Linked DNA regions of Homo sapiens: region 1 is linked to region 2. Evidence: promoter capture Hi-C in 16 types of primary human blood cells and fetal thymus (Javierre and others, 2016). All regions are on one chromosome and are shown on one strand. The core of a region is centred on a gene start or on the middle of the fragment in contact, and the rest is flanking DNA. Distances in the headings are between cores, read along the strand shown. Region 1 overlaps UBN1 (ubinuclein 1). Region 2 holds the start of ALG1 (ALG1 chitobiosyldiphosphodolichol beta-mannosyltransferase).

Evidence for each region. The method cuts DNA at HindIII sites, captures the fragments that hold promoters and counts their contacts. A CHiCAGO score of 5 or more calls a contact.
Region 1: a contact is called between a fragment that was not itself captured here and the fragment with the promoter of ALG1 in region 2, in 1 of 17 cell types (M2 macrophages). The highest score is 6.1, in M2 macrophages.

What each region holds. Positions count from the first base shown.
Region 1 is chr16:4,867,569-4,872,184 of GRCh38, forward strand. It overlaps UBN1 (ubinuclein 1), which reads left to right. Exons shown (of 18, transcript NM_001079514.3): 8 at 1,265-1,335; 9 at 2,644-2,773; 10 at 2,948-3,066; 11 at 3,276-3,404; 12 at 3,587-3,733. Among named protein-coding and RNA genes, the nearest start is that of UBN1, 22 kb to the left of the region's middle. RefSeq lists a silencer at 3,230-3,415. The HindIII fragment of the contact is 380 bases long and covers 1,959-2,338 here.
Region 2 is chr16:5,068,588-5,073,097 of GRCh38, forward strand. It overlaps ALG1 (ALG1 chitobiosyldiphosphodolichol beta-mannosyltransferase), which reads left to right and starts at 3,256. Exons shown (of 13, transcript NM_019109.5): 1 at 3,256-3,470; 2 at 4,364-4,441. The coding sequence starts at 3,263. RefSeq lists enhancers at 3,286-3,345, 3,376-3,485, 3,656-3,715. The HindIII fragment of the contact is 10,202 bases long and covers 1,221-4,510 here.

The sequences.
Region 1 (4,616 bases), core at 899-3,398, 200 kb before region 2:
AGGGCTTAGTTTAGATTTGAGTGTACAATTGTCTGTGTTATTTTGAAGCCCTGAGGGGGAAAGAAGTTATTGGGAGAAGTGGGTTCTAGTGAGAATCCTGGGGTCCGCCTATGGAAAGGAGCTGGTGGAGGAGGCAGATGGAGCAGTTAGAGTGGTTGGAAGGGGCCCCAGAGGATGCAGTGAGAGGAAGGTGAGTGGGGGAGATGATGGTGAGGGGTTAGCAGTGTCTGCAATTTCAGAGGGGTTGATCCCTTCATTCTAGATAGTCACCTTATCACCCTTGTTTGCTGTCGTTACTGTATATCATGTCTGATTTCAGAAATTTTATTTCACCCAAAGCCTTCAGACCAGCAGCTCTTGGGTTGAGAGGAATGGTTCCCAGCCCTTTTTGCACATCAGTGTTCCCAGGGTTGCTTTGAAAGAGTACTTGGGCCACTTTTGAGAGTGTGCATTCCTGAATCTCCTTTCCAGAGACTGTGATTTGAATGGCCTGAGTTGCTCCAAGCTGCCCAGGGAATTCCAATATGCAACCAAGTGTGAGAACCCTGATGCAGACTTCCACAGGGTCTGCTTTTTTGTGTTCCCGCTGTGTCGTGGCTGCCTGCCGTGGTTGCTTCAGGGGTCTCTGAGCTTGCCATCCAGGGTGTGTGTTAACTGTGTTCTTTTCGAAAGCAAACTAAGACTGTACTGAAACTCCTATAATCTGGTGTTAATAGGTAATATGGTGGGTTAATTATTCACATGGTCTGGCTAATAGAGAGCTCGTGGTATACCATAAGTAGATTAGGAATTGTCAAAGAGTTTTAATGTCCTTAAGTGTTAGAGCTACACATTATTATTATTTTTGTAGATAAAAAGGCCTTTAAATCCTATAGACTGGTTGAAGTTCTTGAATATTTTTGTACTGTAGATACATGGAAATCCCAACTAATGGTGTAGTTGATGGTGTATGGGTGCAGGGGTTAGTTGGCCTTATTGGCCTCTGGCTAAGTGCATTGTGATGGCTTTGACTCTGATTTTCTTTTCTGTGACTGTTTTAAGTCCCAGGAAGAACTGGCAGCCCACAGATGCTGCAGCAGCATTTGAAAAGAGAATATTGATCGCAGGCGAACTTAACCTGGGACTAGGGTGGAGTTGGAAAGGTGGCGGTGTGACTGTATTGACAGGTGCTCTTTATGGAGCGATGACTCCTGTGCCTGTGGGTGAGCGTAAGGGACATGTGGGGAAAGTGCACTAACGGCTGTTACTGTCTGCTGTGCACCAGGCTGCCAGAGCTGCTGAGGGGGAGAGCAGACAGAAGTTCTTCACCCAGGATATTAATGGAATCCTATTAGAGTGAGTATCGTCTGTCTGTCTGTCTGTCTGTCTGTTTCTGCTATTACTGAGCTTGGGGCAAGCCAGCTAGGGGACAGTGGGAGTACAATTGAACTGCATAAAGGTGACCACCAAGGAGATAAAAGAAGAATTGGATTAACATGGTTTCATTGTTATTTTTCTTTTAAAAATCAAAACACAACAGGGACACCAAGTACTTGTCTCCAGAAGCGATAGACCTCCTTGATCTTAGGCAGCAGGCATTAATAACATGTGATAATCATGGCCTGTTAGAAGAGGATTTCTTGGCAGGTATGAGATGAGGAGAGAGAGAAGGTGTTGCCTGACTGTCTCTGAGAATCCTGAAGAATGAGAGACAGCCTGGTGGCCTCGGGCCTGCTCTGCCTTGGGTGTTGCTTGGCGTCCCTGGCTGTTCCGCTCGCTGGCACTCCTGTTCCTAGTGCCACGTGCATCATCCCTAATGCTGTTCCCACATGCCTGAGCCTCTGAGACACCACGCTGTGTGAATCGGGTTAAAAAACAGATGAGCAAACATTTGTAAATCCAGACTGGGAAAAGTGAATCCTTGTGGCCTGGCCTGCAGTGTTGCCGCTTTTCTCCTGGTTGCAGTTTGTGGCAGGGGAAGCTTGTTGCTCAACAGCTGAGGAGTTTGTGTGTGTAAGAACAGTTGTCAAAATGTGGGTGTTCTACCACATGGCCTCGCCTGGCCGGGACCTGGATTGGCCCCTTGGGTCAGGAAGTGTGAGCTGCAGAGAGCACCTGAGCATTGGTGCGGACGATAGGATTGTGTCAACAAGGAACCTGCTTGAGCGTGCCAAATGTGGACAGCTCAAGGCATTGAAGAGAAATATTTTTTTGCTTATCTAGATGGAGAAACTGGAGGGGTGAGGCTTTCCCTGACCTCATAATGGTTGATAAACGTGGGGACTGGGGGAAAAAAAAGAAATGCTGCCGGGAAGTGTCTCCTTTGAACCCCAAGTAACTCATGACTTTCCACTTTGAAAGCTTTCATGTTTTCTCTATGAAATTTAGTGCTTCAGAGCTTGTTCTCCTGGGCTCTGTTTTCCTGGTATTGTGACCTAAGAGCCTTGGCCCACATTACCTAGCCATGTTCATCAGGCTTGGGAGTTGTTGTTGTTTGTTGATTGCTGAGGATGTGTTTCCTTGGGCATTCAGTTACATTGTGTGACCAACAAGACAGGGTTTGACTGCCGTTGGCTCCTAGCTTTCCTCTCCACGTACGGTGAGCTGATGAAGACAGGAGTTGCAGTGAGCTGCAGCCGGTGGTGACTGTGTTTTGTTCTTCAGCATAGAGGCGCAGACTCGGGAGCTGAGCAGTCAGGTCCGCTCTGGGGTGTATGCCTATCTTGCGTCATTCCTGCCCTGCAGCAAGGATGCCCTGCTCAAGCGTGCTCGGAAACTTCACCTCTATGAACAGGTGGGTGACTCTAGAGTGAAGCCCTTTGGCTTTGGGGTCCTGGCGGAGGGGTGACTGAGTCTTAAGCAATGATGCGTCTGCTGCCCCACTGCCTCCTTGTGATCACCCCATCATGCGTCCTGAGCGTAAGAGCGATGTGTAAACCTGCCTTGAATTGTGTCCCGCTCTTCGCAGGGGGGCCGTCTGAAGGAGCCTCTCCAGAAGCTCAAGGAAGCCATTGGCAGGGCGATGCCAGAGCAGATGGCCAAGTACCAGGACGAATGCCAGGCACACACGCAGGCAAAGGTTGCCAAGTAAGTTTGTCCTGGCGCTTGCAGGTGCAACCCTCCCGTCTTGCCTCTTCCCCTCCCGTTTCTCGGTGTGTACTGCCGTTTCCCAAGGAGCCTCTTGGCTCTTCTTTGGCCTTTTCTCCTTCTCTGTGAAGTCCCAGTAGTGCAGAGTGAGGGGAGAGGCGGTGGGCAGGAGCACCTTGGGGCCCCATGTAATTCTATTCACCCCGTAGGATGCTGGAAGAGGAGAAAGACAAGGAGCAGAGGGACCGGATTTGTTCGGATGAGGAAGAAGATGAAGAAAAAGGGGGCAGGAGGATAATGGGACCTCGGAAGAAGTTCCAATGGAATGATGAGATCAGGTGTGCCCACACTGGGACTTGGCCTCTTTGGAGGGTTGGTGGGGCAGTGTCTGAGCACGTCCCCTATTGCTGACAAAGGTTAGGCTCATTTACTTTCATCAGGGCTGCTGAAAGCACATGATTGGAACCTTGGAGCAGCATCTGAAGTAGTTTGGAGTTTCTGATTTCTGCCTCCTTCTCAGGGAGCTACTGTGCCAGGTGGTGAAGATCAAACTGGAGAGCCAGGACCTGGAGAGGAACAACAAAGCCCAGGCTTGGGAGGACTGTGTGAAGGGCTTTCTGGATGCGGAAGTCAAGCCCCTCTGGCCCAAAGGCTGGATGCAGGCCAGGTGAGGGCCGTGTGCTGAGATGGGCATCTGTGCAGTCAAGACACGTTTGAACGCTGCTTTTGTGCCAGGCCAACAGGATCCTTGCTCACAGGGAGTCACTGTCTAGCTGCCTCAACTCTGATCTCACCTGAGTAACTGGGGGACATGCAGGTAGCTGGGAAAGGGTCTTCTGGATCTTCCCTGGAGGAAGGGAAGTTGCCTCCAGGGTTTTGTTTTTGTCATTTTTTGTCCCACTTCAGTTGATGTTTGGCCTCCCATCTCAATATGCACTTTCCTTTTTTTTTTTTTTTTTTTTTTTTTTTTGAGATGGAGTCTCGCTCTGTTGCCTGGGCTGGAGTGCAGTGGTATGATCTCAGCTCACTGCAAGCTCCACCTCCCAGGTTCACGCCGTTCTCCTGCCTCAACCTCCCGAGTAGCTGGGACTACAGGTGCCTGCCACCATGCCCGGCTAATTTTTTGTATTTTTAGTAGAAATGGGGTTTCACCGTGTTAGCCAGGATGGTCTCAATCTCCTGACCTTGTGATCTGCCCACCTTGGCCTCCCTAAGTGCTGGGATTACAGGCGTGAGCCACCACACCCGGCCACACTTCCTGTTTTAACATACAGGCTGCTATGAGCATTTGAGAGATGGGTTCATCTTGGGTCTTTCCTGATGTTCCTGAAGAAGTGTCATTTGCAGGTAGCAGGGCTGACTCCTTATTGGAACTAAGTGCCAGGCTTCCATCTCAGAGGCTACCTTGTACGAAGTCACTTCCTGCGAATGAAGTATTTGTGTCATACATGGGACAGAGAAAGTTAGCTGGAGTGATTTTCTTGATTGGACTCGAATCATCTGTTGTGCGGATAGATCTTGGAACCTTTGAAATTGCTGTCCTCTCTACG
Region 2 (4,510 bases), core at 2,006-4,505:
TGCACTGCAGCCTGGGTAACAGAGTGAGACTCTGTCTCAAAATATAAAATGAAATGAAATGAAATGAAATATAAAATAAAATAAAATAAAATAAAATAAAATAAAATAAAATAAAATGAAAACAAGACACCTGGAGCAGGGCGTGGTGGCTCACACCTGTAATCCCAGCACTTTGGGAGGCTGAGGTGGGCGGATCACTTGAGGTTATGAGTTTGAGACCATCCTGGCCAACATGGTGAAACCCCGACTCCACTAAACATACAAAACTTAGCCAGGCGTGATGGTGCAGGGCTGTAATCCCAGCTACTAGGGAGGCTGAGGCAGGAGAATCACTTGAACCTGGGAGGTGGAGGTTGCAGTGAGCCGAGACGGCACCCCTGCACTCCAGCCTGGACGACAGAGTGAGACTCCATCTCAAAACAAACAAACAAACAAGCAAACAAGGAGACACCTGGGAAACCTCGGGTGGGAGGCTGTGGGAGCTGTGGACAGACCGCATTCTGTTCATCACTCATCCACTGATGAGCCTCTGGATTGTTTCCATGATTTGATTCTTGTGGACAGTACTGATGTTTGTTTACAAGTTTTTGTTCGAAAACCTGTTTTTCATTCTCCTGGGTGTATACGTGGGAATGCCATTGCTGTGTCACGTGATAATTCTATGTTGAACCTAATGAGGGACCATACGACTGTTTTCCACAGTGGCTGGGCCATTTACGTGCCCACTGGCAGAAGATGAGGGTTCCTTATGTACTGCCCCATGAAATTTTATTTTACTTGTTTATTTTTTTGAGACAGGGTCTCGCTTTGTCACTTAGGCTGGAGTGCAGTGGTATGATCATGGTTCACTGCAGCCTCGACCTCCCTGGGCTCAGGTGATCTTCCCACCTCAGTCTCCCGAGTAGCTGGGACTATAGGCACACGCCACCACCATTTTTTGGGTATTCTTTGTAGAGATGGGGTTTCACTATGGTGCCCAGGCTGGTCTTGAACTCCTGGGCTCAAGTGATCCTTCCGCCTCAGCGTCCCAAAGTGCTGGGATTACAGGCATGAGCCACTGCTTTCAGCCTTCATAAAATTTTAATACTGCAGATATACTGCATGCTTGTGTATTGTATCATTATCTGTGCTTTATACATAAAAAGGGTAAGGATGTTTTGCTCCCCAAGAGCCATTTTTGCCCCCTTGGGAGCACCACTGGGAACAGAGGTTCTAGGGGAAGCTTGTCATTGTCATTACTTCTGTTAATCCTTGATCACCCCTCAAGTGGGTGCTCAGTCAACTTGAACAAAATCTGAGGCTCCAAGGGAGATTGAGTGACTTATCCATATATCCTCTTGATTGTTGGAAAGACTGGATCTCATGTGGAATGGATGCCAAGTGAGAAAGCCGGACAGGTGGGCTGGCCCAGCTATGAAACCGCCCCCCTGCTGGGGATGGCTCCGTCCCCTCTCTCCAGGAGACACCACGGCAACTCCCTCCCCGACGGAGGTTCACCTACCAGAGGGAGGCATCTACTTTTGGTTTGTCATCACCATAGTCTTTATCCTCTTAGCTCATCAGAGCAGGACAGGCTCTCAAAGACTTGAAGTTCCCCTCCCTTAATTCACAGACGAAGAAAGCAAATTGATGGGGAGTGACTCGCCCGAGGTGGAGCAGGAAAGCCAGGAGTCCTGAGGCTGAGGTCCCAGATCCCTACCTGTCCCATTACAGAGCGTCGACAGAGTTGGGCAGGCGATGTGTCACAGGCCTCCACCCCAGCACACGCAACCTGGAGGCAGGGGCCTCGCTGGGAACTGGAGGATAAATGCCGCTGCCAGCATGTTTGTATGCCCATCCCTGCTGTCTGCAGATACTTACTCGTCCTTCCTTTCCTTCTGAAAGCTCGGGTTTCAAGGTCTGGCTTAAGGCGTGAGCTGTCCCTTCTGAATCCATAGAAAGGGAGTGATGGGGCAATTGTGAAAAGCAGATGCAAAGTGTGCCAAGCCCTGAGCTGAGCCCAGGGACACTGGGGAGCCACATCCATGTGGGCTACCCTGTCCCGTGGGTGCTGCCTGTGGTCCTCATCAGGGGAGGAGTCTTGTTTGTTTGTTGAATACGGTCTGGGTGGTGGCTCTCCAGGTTCTGCGGCAGCTCCCAAGTGGAGGCAATGGGGTAGCATCACCAGTGAGCTCTTGGTGTTTCTCTGCAAGGGACCGCTTTCAAAGAAAAAAGGTCATGATACGGTTTGGCTGTGTCCCCACCCAAATCTCATCTTGAATTCCCATGTGTTGTGTGGAAGGGACCCAGTGGGAGGTAACTGAATCATGGGGTCAGGTGTTTCCCGTGCCGTTCTCGTGATAGTGAATAAGCCTCACGAGACCTGATTGTTTTATAAAAAGGAGTTTTCCTGCAGAAGCTCTCTTTTTGCCTGCTGCCATCTATGTAAGAGGTGACTTGCTCCTCCTTGCCTTCTGCCATGATGGTGAGGCCTTCCCAGCCATGTGGACCTGTAAGTCCATGAAACCTCTTTCTTATGTAAAGTGCTCAGTCTCGGGTATGTCTTTATCAGCAGCATGAAAACGGACTAATACAGGCCATCGCAGAGACACACATTAAACTCTCACTATGGCTACTTTGGGAGGTGAAATTGGAGGGTCACTGTGGAAATTTCCTTTCTAGCCATTGATACTTAAGCAAAATCATGATGGTGTTTACTTCCTTGTTTGTCCTTCCCCCTCTCTACCTTTTAAATGTTTTATTAAGTGTGATGTACACCCTGGAAAATGGGCAGGTAATCTGCTGCTTGAGGTACCGCCCCAAATGCAGCACACCCACATTACCAGCACCAGATCCAGAAGCAGAACCCACCAGCCCCTAACTTCTAACAGCGAGGACTGGTTTTTATTTACATAGACGGAACTCTACAATTCGTACTCGTCAGCATCTGGCTCCTTTATCAATGTTAGGATGAAATTTATCCAAATTCTTGTGTCACTATATTTTGAAATTATCTTTGAATCCTGAAGAGAGTTCTTAGATCCCAATACAGTAACAGCTTTACTTTAGTCGGGGAAATACACTGGTGTGTAGGGAATCTGGTGTATGTGCGTGTGTCCTACTACTACTAATTCTTGGCCCCGAGGGGCTCCTGGGGGTTCCCCGGGCCCCTGTTAGGGAACCGCGTCCACTTCTCGCCCTCTCGGCCCACTTCGGAGGCTCGGTCTGCGGCTGCGCACAGCGCGAGGAAGCGCGGTCACGTGACTGCTGCGGGCCAGCCAAGATGGCGGCCTCATGCTTGGTCCTGCTGGCGCTGTGTCTGCTGCTGCCGCTGCTGCTGCTGGGAGGATGGAAGCGCTGGCGCCGGGGGCGGGCGGCCCGGCATGTAGTAGCGGTGGTGCTGGGCGACGTGGGCCGCAGCCCCCGTATGCAGTACCACGCGCTGTCGTTGGCCATGCACGGCTTCTCGGTGACCCTCCTGGGGTTCTGCAGTGAGTGGCCAAGGGTCTGGGAGGGACGATGCTCTCTCAGCCGTTGATCCTCGGTTCTAACCGCCCCGGGGAGTCGAGGCGGAAGTGCTCCTTTAGTCGCCGCCTTTGGGCAGCTCTCCGAGATTAGACGAGCGGTTCTGCCCCAGCCTTTCCTGGGTGGGTCTCTAGGTATAGCCGGCGTTAATCTTGCCACGTGTCAGAAGTGTGTTAAGTGAATCCATTGCGTGGTCTCACGTAATTCTCCTAGTAAGTGGAACCCAGGTGCGTGGAACTCCAGGGCTAGTGCTGGTAGCTACGTCCCTGTGCAGCTACCCTTGTCAGGCTATGTCTGAGCTGACAGGATATTTCATTCCTCATCCCTCAACGCAGAGCTCTGCAGACAGATGTTTTCATTTGTTCTTCATGTCCAGCTTTTCCCCACAGTGTGCAGGGCAGCGGTGTCTGCTCCCTCATTATTCTCCACGTTGGTATCTTGAGAGGGTAGCTCAACCCCATCTCAGGAAGAAGTGGGAACAGCACTAGTTGCCTTTAATCCCTGTTTAGAATCTGCTATCCTAGGGTGATGGGGTAGAGTGGGACTTCCTAGGGATGGCTCTGTGGTGGGAAAATTCCACTATCCAGACAATCTAGATTAGTTTAATTGAGCACCTACTGTTTGCCAGGCATCATGTTAAGTGAAGGTAGGTAAGATTCAGGCCCTATCTCTGTGTGCCTCCTAGAGCAATCTGAACAAGAATTGGCCGCATTCTCTGTTCTGGCTAGTGAGGAGCAGAGAGAGGTTTTGAAATATCTTACTTTCCAAAACACTGTCCGTGATTCAGCCTGAGTTGGGAGATTATCTGACTTTAGATTGCTGCTTCTGGTACATTAAAGGGATCATTCTCATTTTTCAGACTCCAAACCCCATGATGAGCTCTTGCAGAACAACAGAATTCAGATTGTGGGGTTGACAGAACTTCAGAGTCTTGCAGGTAGGATGCCGTCAACTCCAGAATCCTCTGAATCCATGGGCTGGGGGCAGGGGGTGTTCGTTTGAAAAG